2 separate regions of the Homo sapiens genome follow, and region 1 is linked to region 2. Evidence: promoter capture Hi-C in 16 types of primary human blood cells and fetal thymus (Javierre and others, 2016). All regions are on one chromosome and are shown on one strand. Each heading gives the region's core, a stretch centred on a gene start or on the middle of the fragment in contact. The rest is flanking DNA. Distances are from core to core; before and after follow the strand shown. Region 1 overlaps ARHGEF6 (Rac/Cdc42 guanine nucleotide exchange factor 6). Region 2 holds the start of RBMX (RNA binding motif protein X-linked).

Region 1 (5,739 bases), core at 1,040-3,539, 110 kb before region 2:
ACTAAACTTTTCTGTTTCTTTGTCAAGTGAAAGTAATGCCATCTCTCCTACATCCTTTACAAGGGCACGGGGAGTTTCAGATAACTAGAAGGCATTCAAAAAATTAAGCACCAAAGAAATGCAATATGAGAATAGTAGCTGGAAATTTACTTTGTTCAAAACTCCAATCATCTGCACAGCACCCAGACTAAGACAGAACACTCCCTTGTTTTAACTGCTCTAAGCACACCCAAAGAGTACACCAGCCTGAAGCTGGCTTATTATGTAAGAAGGGACTGCAGCATTGCCTGGCATGTAGCATAATACTTTGCTGAAGAGAAATCCTTGGAAATGCCTCAGCTGAAGCACAAGGGCAGGCCCAGGCCTTACATTTTGGAGAGAGGTGCTCTCAGTCACAGAATTCCAGACTGTGGCTGGAGCAAATGATGTCATCAGAGATCCTCTTACCATGGTCAATGTCAAAATTAAGATAGGAAGTCCAAGGACACTATGAGTTTTCCAGGCAAATATAAGTTTAAAAAAAAACAGTTTGAACCTTTGAATCTTGCCTTTAAAATTATTAATACTTTACAGAGCATAAACTGAAATTTATCCTATTTTGTGAGGTTTTTTTTGGGGGGGGGTTATGCAAAGTTTTTATTGACCAAAATATACATAATTGCAGAGGAAAATATATTCATTTACTGTATTTTTACTCCCACTACACATTAAGAAAAGGGAAAAATATCATGTGAGTTACCCCTCTATCCAAAAACAATAACAAATCAAAAATGAAAATATAAGACCTTTGAAGAGGCAGAGATAAACTTGAGGGCTCTCCGCTGCAGAGCTAAGAAACGAAATAGCTCAAATACCTGTTGGGTTCCTAAATGACTGGAAAATGAAAACTTGTAATTAACTACAGGCACTTTGGAACACCTTGTAGAATACAGGTCTTTTCCATCTACAAACCATTCCTGCGACAGATCTCTGTACTTAATGCAGAAAACATCTCCAAATGTATGGATGCTCGGGGTTGGGAGGGCATCACAGTAGTATTAAAAATGGTACTGTTGACTCCTGCTCTGGTTCTGGGGGAAGGAAAGAATCCAGTCGGATGCAAACCTTGCGGCCAGAGCTGGACAACTCGCCCCTAAGTTTGGCGCGTCCTCGCTCTGCGTCCTTGGCCCTCATCTCCCCCTTCCCGGCACCCTGGATCTCAGCGAACTGTGAGGCCCTGGCAGAGAACGGACCCCGCAGCTGGGGCTGCGAGCCACGGCAGTGGGGAAGAAGGGCGGTTCCTCTCCAAAGGGGGTCCTTCGGCACCCACCCCCGGGCCCTCGCGCGCTCCCCTTCCCCTGACCCTTTTGCCCCCAGGCAGGTCACCTGGCTCGGCCGCTGCCCGCCTGTCCTCCAGCTGCTCCCTCACTCCAGCCGCGCCGCCGCCGCCTCCTGGAAGCCGTTCGCCCTCCCGAGTCACGGGGCCGGCGAGCGGGCGGGCAAGCCTGTGCCAAGGCTGCGGGAACAGATCAACCCAGCCGGAGCTGGGACCCTGCCCTGAGCGCGGCCGCCACCAGGGCGAAACTGGAGAGCTGGGCTAGGCTCGCCCCAGCGGGGAGGGGCGGCTGCAACTTTGCGCCTGGACGCGGGCGAGGAGGGGGCGCCCGTCTCCAAACTCTGTGCCGCGCCCGCAACCTCTCCAGCCCAGGGATTGTTTTTTAATCTAAAGGGAAGTCAGAGTCTTGTCCTCAAGTTCTTGTTGCCATAGCCGTGCCGCTCGGCGGGCGGAGGATCGCGGGGCCGAACTGGGGGTGCCGGAGGCGCGCCCCGCTGGGTGCGCTGGCTGCGAGCCGGGCGAGGGTGCGCGGGGTGGCGAGTGGAGGGGAGCGACTGCCGGGGGAGCCAGCCCGCGAAGCTTCTCCAGACCACGCTCAGCTACCCGCGCCGGTCCCCTCCTGCCCGCAGCCGGAGCCGAGCAGCGGAGGGAAAGCGGCCTGGAGGCACTGGGCCAGCAGCGGGTAAGCAGTGACCCGGACCTGGATCGCAGAAGTAGGAACTGGAAGTGACAGCGGCGCAGGCAGAGCAGCAGCAGCAGCAGCAGCAGCAGCAGCAGCCCTGGTAGCTGTGGCAGCAGCAAAAGCCGCGGTGTACCCGCGGCGGCCACACTGCGCATGCTGCTGCCGCCCGCTTCAGCCCCTACCCGAGGGCTGCCGGTGCCTGGCATGTTGCGGGTCACTGCCAGAGCTTCGGGCGGGATTCCCGGACTCATGGACTAGCCCTTTCTGGTGGCCTGCTTCCTCCCTCACCCCCAGATGCAACTCAGAACCCCCAAACTCTATGGTGAGCCGCTGAGACACCCGAGAAGCGTTGGCTCTCCAGAGGCCCTTCACATACCACCCTTCCTCCAACTATCCTAGATGCCCTTCCCGGCCTCTCTGATAACAGGCCCCAAATCAAATAGTCTCTTTGAGAGAGAACGAAAATGTTCATGATAGATGGGAAATATTTAAAATCTTATTCAATGTCTAATTTTTACAGAAATACGATGCAATCTGTAAAACATTAGGATAGCCAGACTCATGGGTGACATTTAATGTAACTCTTGGAAATTCCATTAAGCATGTCAGATTTGCACAACAGAAGAAAAGAACTTGCCAAAATCCTCTTTGGTCTTCCTACTAGTTCCAACTGAGCAGCTAAATATGCAAAGCTTTGCCTAGCGGAAACTGATGGAAATGGGCAAGTTAAAAACAGACATTACAACCATTAGACATTACCCAACCCCTACTCTAGTCTCCTCATTTTACAGATGACTCAACTGAGGCCTGGGAAAGGAGATCCTGACTTCACACAAGTGGCAGGGTCAGGGCTTGAAGCAAGATCTGCTGATACCCGTTACAACTACTGGTAATTGTAGTGGTTAGGCCGGGCCTTGTGCCTAACTCCTCCCAGGAGGCACCGCGCTGCTAGATATTTAGTCTTGACTCATGATCATTAGTAGAGCTGCCTTACTTTCAGAACTGCTTCCCTGCAGAGCAGCCCCTGGGAAATGGCAAATCGTCCATCCCACAAGCCTCACTTTGGGGAGGGCACCCCTGCTGTTCCGGTGACAAGGCAGATGGAGTGACTCAGGGAGACAGGAGGGAATGAGGGGGTGGGGGCAGAGAAAAAAACATACTGCTACCAGCTGGTACTGGAAAGAAAGAAAGAGAGAGGGGGAGAAAGAGAGGGAGAGAGAGTAAGAGAGGGGGAAAGAGAGGAGGAAGAGAGGGAAGGAGGAAGAAAGAAAGTGAAATAAGTACTAATTGAATCTCATATACATTCAGTGAAATCCTTCCAGAATAAAATATCTTTAAAAAAAAATAAACTTGGGGCTGGGTGCGGTGGCTCCTGCCTATAATCCCAGCACTTTGGGAGGCAGATGCAGGTGGATCACTTGAGGTCAGGAATTCGAGACCAGCCTGGCCAACAGGGCGAAACCCTGTCTCTACTAAAAATACAAAAATTTGCGGGGCATGATGGCGGGCACCTGTAATCCCAGCTACTTGGGAGGCTGAGGCACAAGAATCACTTTAACCCGGGAGGTGGAGGCTGCAGTGAGCCTAGATCACGCCACTGCACTCCAGCTGGGTGACAGAGCGAGACTCCATCTCAAAAATAAATAAAAATAAATAAATAAATAATAAACTTGGCTCAGGAGCAGAATAGGAGATGGTAGGGTGTCCCTGGCAATGGGTTGGTAGTAATGGTGGAAGAGGACAAAGGCAGATTACCTTCTGGGGATAAGGCAGAGGAAAGGGTTGGCTAACAGGAAAACCATAGGTTTAGAGCTTTCAGAGACCAGTCGGTCATGTAGTTGTAGCCAGGACAATGCAATCAAAGAGGTACTACCCAGGCCATTCTTGACTGATCGGAAGAATTGTAGGTGTCCCCAACTCTCAGCAACTTCAGGGGCAACACAAAAATAAAACTGCCATTGCTAGAACTTGTGTTGTTGAGAGACATCAGTGACCCTCTACCTAGACAGGAGGATTCTTCCATATATTCTGGAAACTTCACTTGGGACCTGAGTATTTTCCCTGCCTTCTCCATTCTGTAAGAAAGTAAGAAAGATATATTTGGTTCACAAAAAGGAAATACAAATAGACTATAAAGGGATAAGAGGATGTCCAAACTCATTAGTAATCATGAAATACAAATTACAGCAATAAATGAAATGCCATTTTCATCCATCAGTTTAGCAAACATTAAAGACAAATAATATCCAGTGTTGCCAGGGACAGGAAGAAGACACTGTTTACACTATTGCTGAGAGTGTAACTTGGTATAACATTTTTGAAGGGCAATTTGACATTATCTATCACAATTTTACACAGTAATCCCATTTCTGTGAAGAAAGATCCTTCAAGAATAATCACTGATGTGCACAAATTTCTATGTGCATATATAACATGATCTACTGGGTTTTATCCCAGGAATGCAAGATTGATTTAATATATGAAAATCAATTGATGTAATACAGCATACAAATATAATAACAAACAAAAACCAGTGATCATTTTAACAGACGTAGAAAAAGCATTTGACAAAATCCAACTCTTTTCATGATAAAAAACAAAACAAAACACTTATAACAAACTCAGAATATAAAGAAACCTCAATCTGATAAAGGCCATTTACCAAAAACCCACATCTAACATCGTACTCAATGGTGAAAGACTGTCTGCTCTCATCACTTCTATTAAACATTGTACCAGAGGTTCCAGCCAGAAAAATTAGGGAAGAAAATGAAATAAAAGGCATCCAGATTGTAAAGGAAGAAGTAAAACTATCTCTATTCACCAATGGCATACTCTTGTATAAGAAAACCATATGGGAATCCACTAAAAAACTATTCAAACTAATGAATAAGTTCTTGGAAGTGAAGAATACAAGATGAATATTAAAAAATCAATAGGGCAGGCACCGTGGCTCACACCTGTAATCCCAGCACTTTGGGAGGCCAAAGACAGGTGGATCACTTGAGCTCAGGAGCTCGAGACCAGCCTGGGCTACATTGTGAAACCCTGTATCTATAAAAAATACAAAAATTAGCCAAGCATGGTGCTCCACACCTGTGGTCACAGCTACTCAGGTGGCTGAGGTAGGACAATCACCTGAGCCCAGGAGTTTGAGACTGCAGTGAGCTGTAATCACACCACTGCACTCCAGCCTGGGCAACAGAGTAAGACCTTGTCTCAAAAAAATAATTATATTTCTATACACTTGCAGTGAACAATTTAAATACCAAATCAAGAAAACAATCCTATTTTTTTATAACACCAAAAATAATAAAATCCTTTGGAATAAATTGAACCAAGCAGGTATAAGACATGTACACTGAAAAGTACATAATATTGCTGAATGAAACTAAAGACAAATAAGTGGAAATACATCCCATAAGACAAATAAGTGGAAATACATCCCATGTTCATGGATTCAAACATTTAATATTATTAAGATGGCAACACTCTCCAAAGCAATCTATAGATTGAACACAATCACTATCAAAATCTCAGCTGGCCTTTTTTGTAGAAATTGACAAGCTGATCCTAAAATTCATATGGACATGCGAGGGATCCAGAATGGCCAAAGTGATTTTGAAAATGAAGAACAAAGTTGAAGGACCCGCTTTTAAAACTTACTACGTAGCTACATTAATCAGTTCAATGGAGGAATTGGCTAATGTTGTCTTTTCAACAAATGTTACTGAAACAACTG
Region 2 (5,917 bases), core at 911-3,410:
GTGAAACCCTGTCTCTACTAAAAATACAAAGTTAGCCGGGCGTGGTCGCGCATGCCTGTAATCCCAGCTACTGGGGGGGGGGGGGGGGGCTGAGGCAGAAAAATCGCTTAGAACTCGGGAGACAGGCTGCAGTGGGCACTGCACCATTGCACTCCAGGCTAGGCAACGGAGGGAGACTATCAAAAAAAAAAAAAAAAAAGTACCATGTAATGCCATAATTATTCTGAACTGAGAGAATGTTACGAGCATAAGATATAACTCACTACTAGATTTGGTTCTGCAATTACAGAATACTCTTTGGAACAGGATCACAAACAGGATGAGTGGATCCCAGACAGGTATATACTGAAAAACAACGAAAACTCAAAAGCTGTCCTAGACCAGACTTGGACAACTACATGTTATTTTATGCACTAGTAACAGGTTATCATCCATCGTGTAGACAATCTCACCTTTCCATTCATGTCTCTGGCTGCATCCTTAGCGTCTGCTGGGCTTTCAAAGGTGACAAAAGCAAATCCTCTTGATTTGTTGGTTTCACGGTCTTTCATCAAGAGTACTAAAAAGTAGTTTTCAGAAAAATAAAGTGTTACCCTAGGTCAAATGAAATAACCAAAGTAAATGTGTAAACAGAAAGCTCAGAACTTCTTAGAGGACAAAAATACATTATCATGTCAGACGATCAATGCAATCAAATTCATCATAGCTTATATTTTAATTATAATAGCCCAGCCTGTACTGCCAGACAACTCACCTTCCACTATTCGTCCATATTTGCCAAATACTGCTTCAAGAGCTTTCTCATTTGTTTCCGTATTAAGCCCACCAATGAAGAGCTTTCCTGGGCGATCTGCTTCAACCATGTTTTTTTTTTTTTGGGCCGGTGAGTCTGTTGAAAAGGAATAGTATTACCTCACTGCAAAAAGTTCCTCAAGTTTATTGGACACTTTTACTTTCGCACATTTCTCATATTTTCCACTAAAACCATTGTTCCTTAATAACTAAAGAAAACGATAACGAGCTAAGCCTCAGCCACAGTAGGAAGCAATTTGAACTAAGTAGTTTAGTAACACTGCAATTTACATAAAACTGGTTAAAAGGGCCAACTTAACTTTTACCACTACCCTTGATCACCCTTAGCTGTTCTTAAGCAACAGCTGCTTAACATTTGAAAAAGCAACTTTTAGTTCCAGTCCTCTTGCCTTTGAAAGATTCAATTACTCATCACACCCTTCCTAACGATGGTTTTAAAAGACTCCCAAGGTCACAGGCTAGACACAGGACCTTAACACCAAGCCCTCTTCCAACGACTCCTCTTTTCCTCATTAGGATTCCCTACTAAATCCAAGGAGAAATGTGAAGTTTAAGCCAAGTTATGCCGCCCCTCTTCTTCACCGGCCCCCGCCCTACCGAAAATTCTACTATCCGGCCAAAAAGATAAAAACAAATCGTCAACATCGTTTGCTATTAAGTAACGGAACGCGGACGCACACACTAACACTCGACACTCCGTGACTGCAGCGGAACCTAATTAAAACTCGTCATTAAAAACCGCGTGTAAAAGACAAAATGGCGACACTTGGATTCAACCCAGAACCACCGACACTGGTCAGGGGACTAACTTTTACCACCAACATTGGCTGGGAACATTCAGAGGGCTTCTTCTCCGGGGCCGCCAATGAATACGAAGCCCGCAGCCCGCATGGAAGTCCACATGCCCATCATTAGCGCCAGCGCCATACCAATGCAGGTATCGCCGTGGTGCGGTCGCTCCTCGCCCCGCTCCAGCCTACAAAGCCCCGACCTCCGCTACCAACTCCCGCAGATGGCAGCCAAACTTTCTCGAGAAGCATACAACCAAACGGGCCCCCTCATTTGTTTTCCCTCGACCCCCTCAGCTTTATTTAAATAGGTCGGAACCTTTGGGTTCTTAAAATGGCGCCCGCCACCCCCATCTCCAGGGAGATATAATCCCCAGTCCTAACACGGGGAGAGTGTCACGAAAAACGGACTGAGGAAAGGAGACACGTACCGGAGGGGTGACAATGGGTTCAAGCTCCAACGAGCTCGGCGATAGGGGCTTCCTAGCAGCTCAGCACCAGTGGCGGCTGCCGGGTGCGAGGACCGAACCGCGAAGCCGCTAGCACTACTGCGCAACGAGGGCGAACAAAGGAGACAGCAAACTTTATACTGCCCGGGAACGAGGCTGAAGGACCCGGATGGAAACGGAGCTTAGAATTTGAAACGCAAAGGGAGGGGGGAAGTAGTTCCCAGTCTCCCCATTGGCTGGCTCCTCTGTCATTCACCCTTCTCTCCTCCCTTTTTCCCGGGCCCTCGGTGTTGGGTCGACAGACCTTTCTAACCGTTTTCTCTACCCCCACCCGTTCTTTACAAACGCGCTTTTTTTGCTTTACGCTAAAATGGTGCACAGGCTTCCTTTAATAAAGAACTGAAGTTTATTGAGCGTCCTAGTGGGCCGGGCACGGTGCAAAACTTTACTTTTACTTTTCCATTAACTCTTCTAATTGTCAAAATGTGATGAGGGTAGATACTCCTACTATACCAATTTTGCAGAAACGGAAAACAAAGAAGTTTTGGCAATATAATATATTTTCAAAAATTGTCTTTAACAAGTGTTTTTAGTGAGTGTGGGAATTTCTGATAAATACATGTAAATTTCAGATGAGTAAAAAACGTACAAAACAGCATGCAGATAGTACATTCATATAGAACAATTACTGAGCACCTTGTAAATGGTGGGCTCTGGGCTAGGCCAGGAAAATACAACTCCAGGGAAAAGACAAGAGTCAGGCCTGTGGGTAAGGATGCCGGATTTAATAAATGAAAATACCAGGCCGGGTGCAGTGGCTCACGCCTGTAATCCCAGCACTTTGGGAGGCCAAGGTCGGTGGATCACGAAGTCAGGAGATGGAGACCATCCTGGCTAACACGGTGAAACCCCGTCTCTTTTTAAAAATACAAAAAATTACCCAGGCGTGGTGGCACGCGCCTGTAGTCCCAGCTACTCGGGAGGCTGAGGCAGGAGAATCCGGGAGGCGGAGGTTGCAGTGAGCCAAGACTGCGCCACCGCACTCCAGCCTGGGCAGGCGACAGAGCGAGACTCCGTCTCAAAATAAAAAAGAAAATGCGGGACGCTAATTTATTCTGCGAAGCTGTTAAAAAATTTTAAATAAAAATATGGGACGCGGCCGGGGCGCGGTGGCTCATGCCTGTAATCCTAGCACTTTGGGAGGCCGAGGCGGGCAGATTGCCTGAGCTCAGGGGTTTGAGACCAGCCTGGGCAACATGGTGAAACCCCGTCTCTACTAAAATAAAAATAAAAAATAAAAAAATTAGCCGGGCGTGGCGGCGTGTGCCTGTAGTCCCAGCTACTCGGGAGGCTGAGGCAGGAGAATTGCTTGAACCCAGGAGGCGGCGGTTGCAGTGAGCCAAGATCATACCACTGCACTCCAGCCTGGCAACAGAGCGAGACTTCGTCTAAAAAAAAAAAAAGGGACGCCCAGTTAAGTTTAAATTTCAGATAACGAATACTTTTTTTAGTATAGTATGTCCCAAATCTCATATTTTAAAAATTCGCTGTTTATCGGAAATTCAAATTTAACTGAGCATTCTATATTTCATCTGCCCATCCTACTTGTTGAGGGGGGAAACCAAAAAATTTTTTAATTTTTTTCTTAAAGAAATTGAATACAATTAACAAAAGAATGGCATGTTGTGATTAATGCCAGGGAGGAAATAAACTAGTTGCTTTGATGGACAATATTAGGGAGAACAAATTTGATTAAAACATCAGGGAAGGTCTATGTGAAGAGGTGACTTTGGAGATCAGAGCTGAAGGAAGAAAAGAAACTAGCTATGGGAACAGCTGAGGGAAAAACCTTCAGGAAAAGAAGAGAATAGTAAACACAAAGTAGAGAGGAAGAGCTTGGCATATATCAAGGGACAGAAAGAGGGCCAGGTGACAAGAATATGAGGGGCATGAAATGAGGGAGCCAAGATTGGCAGGACCTTTGAGCCCATTAAATGACTGTAGGGGGTAAGTGTGGGAAAAAGGACACTAATAGGGCTGTGGGAGCAGACCAGAAAGAGAGGATGGTGGCTTGAATCAGGGTGGCGGCAGTGGACACGGGGAGGAAAGAACAATTGTTAGATGAATATGATAGGTATCGTGTTTAATGGTGCTATGGTCTAAATGTTTGTGTCCTCCCCCAAATTCATATGTTGAAATCCTAATACCCAAGGTGATGGCATTAGGAGGCGGGGATTTGGGGAGAAGATTAGGTCACAAAAGGGTAGGGTCCTCATGAATGGGATTAACACTTTTATAAAAGAGGCCCCTGTCCACCATGTGAGAACACAGTGAGGTGCCACTTATATGAACCAGAAAACTGGTGGTGGTGGGCCCTCACCAGACACTGAATATGCTGGCGTCTTTATCTTGGACTTCCCAGCCTACAAAAATGTGAGAAATAAATTTCTGTTGTTTATAAGCCAGCCAGTTTATGGTATTTTGTTATAGTAGCAGGAATGGACTAAGACAGATGGGAAAGGGGTGGGGAAGAATTGCGGAAAAAGAAAATCATTATGGATGACTCCAAGTATCTGGTATTAGTGGGACAGATGGTAACAGTCATTTACCAAAATGGTTTCAGAGGAGCAAGTTTGGGATATAGGGGCAGAAAAATCTGAAGCTCAGAGCATAGATCTGTGCTAAATTATCATCTCAGAGATGTAATAAAAGCCATCAGAATGAATGAAACCACCAAACAAGAGAGTACAGTGGGAAAAGAAGGCCCAAGATCACATAATATGAGCTATTAAAAAAATACATATGGAGACAAAATAACTGGGAGGAAATATGCCAAAATGTTACCAGTTTATCTTGGAGTGGTAGAATTTATGGACAATTTTCACTTTTCTTCTTCTTCTTCTCCTTTTTTTTTTGTTTGTTTTTTTGTTTTTTTGAGAAAGAGGTTCGCTCTCATTGCCCAGGCTAGAGTGCACTGGTGCGATCTTGGGTCACTGCAACCTCTGCCTCCCGGGTTCAAGCGATTCTCCCGTCTCCGCCTCCTGAGTAGCTGGGATTACAGGCATACGCCACCATGCCCGGCTAATTTTGTATTTTTAGTAGAGACAGAGTTTCACCATGTTGGCCAGGCTGGTCTCAAACTCCTGACCTCAGGTGATACGCCCGCCTCGCCCTCCCAAAGTGCTGAGATTACAGGCCTGAGCCACCGTGCCGGGCCTTTTCTTCTTCATAGTTACAATTACCTGCCCATGGTGAATTTTGGTATATGCCAGGCAGGTTGTAGTAAATAATATTCAGGTCACGGGTAAAAGCCCCCAAGGAGCTTCGAAACCAGCTCTGAATTATTAACATTAATAGGGGGAGTAATGCCCAGTAGGACAAGAATATTTGTTCTTGTTTTTTTTCCCCCAGCCAAATAATAAAAAGTAAGGCAAAACTCATGTCCATTTGCCTTTTGAATGAGTTCTGTAAATTATAGACTCTGGAGTCATTTGGGAACTGGCAAAAATGGCTTAAATACCAGGCTCAGCAAGCAGAACTTGTACTCCCAGAGGTAGCCAGGAGAAATCCCTCACCCTGTGGAAGCAGGCACTCTCTTTCTCTGTCTCAAATCCAAAGAGAGACTACAGGACTCTCCTCTAGGCTCTGAGTGTAAATCAGGTCTCCTCTAGTCTAGGGCAAAATGGGGCAGGCTCGACAATAGATAACCCTGTCCTCCTGGGTCTCAAAAAGGAAATGTGCATCCCCGTAGACCAGCTCACTTTGGCCTCTGCAGTTCACACCCAGGAATGTGGGGGAGGAGAAGTAGCATGCTGGCGGTGTTGGATGCAAACACAATTCCCAAGGACCAAAAGCGAGTGGGTGGGG

The links. The method cuts DNA at HindIII sites, captures the fragments that hold promoters and counts their contacts. A CHiCAGO score of 5 or more calls a contact.
Region 1: a contact is called between a fragment that was not itself captured here and the fragment with the promoter of RBMX in region 2, in 5 of 17 cell types (total CD8 T cells, activated CD4 T cells, neutrophils and 2 more). The highest score is 7.9, in total CD8 T cells.

What each region holds. Positions count from the first base shown.
Region 1 is chrX:136,765,779-136,771,517 of GRCh38, forward strand. All of the region lies in intron 2 of ARHGEF6 (Rac/Cdc42 guanine nucleotide exchange factor 6), which reads right to left. Among named protein-coding and RNA genes, the nearest start is that of ARHGEF6, 12 kb to the right of the region's middle. RefSeq lists silencers at 1,307-1,436, 1,497-1,546, 1,551-1,719, 1,577-1,626, 1,637-1,916 and an enhancer at 2,649-2,758. The HindIII fragment of the contact is 795 bases long and covers 1,893-2,687 here.
Region 2 is chrX:136,878,565-136,884,481 of GRCh38, forward strand. It overlaps RBMX (RNA binding motif protein X-linked), which reads right to left and starts at 2,161. Exons shown (of 9, transcript NM_002139.4): 1 at 2,033-2,161; 2 at 755-889; 3 at 453-559. The coding sequence starts at 863. It overlaps SNORD61 (small nucleolar RNA, C/D box 61), which reads right to left and starts at 707; the gene lies at 635-707. RefSeq lists enhancers at 1,086-1,685, 1,487-1,546, 1,557-2,016, 1,686-2,284. The HindIII fragment of the contact is 13,799 bases long and covers 1-5,917 here.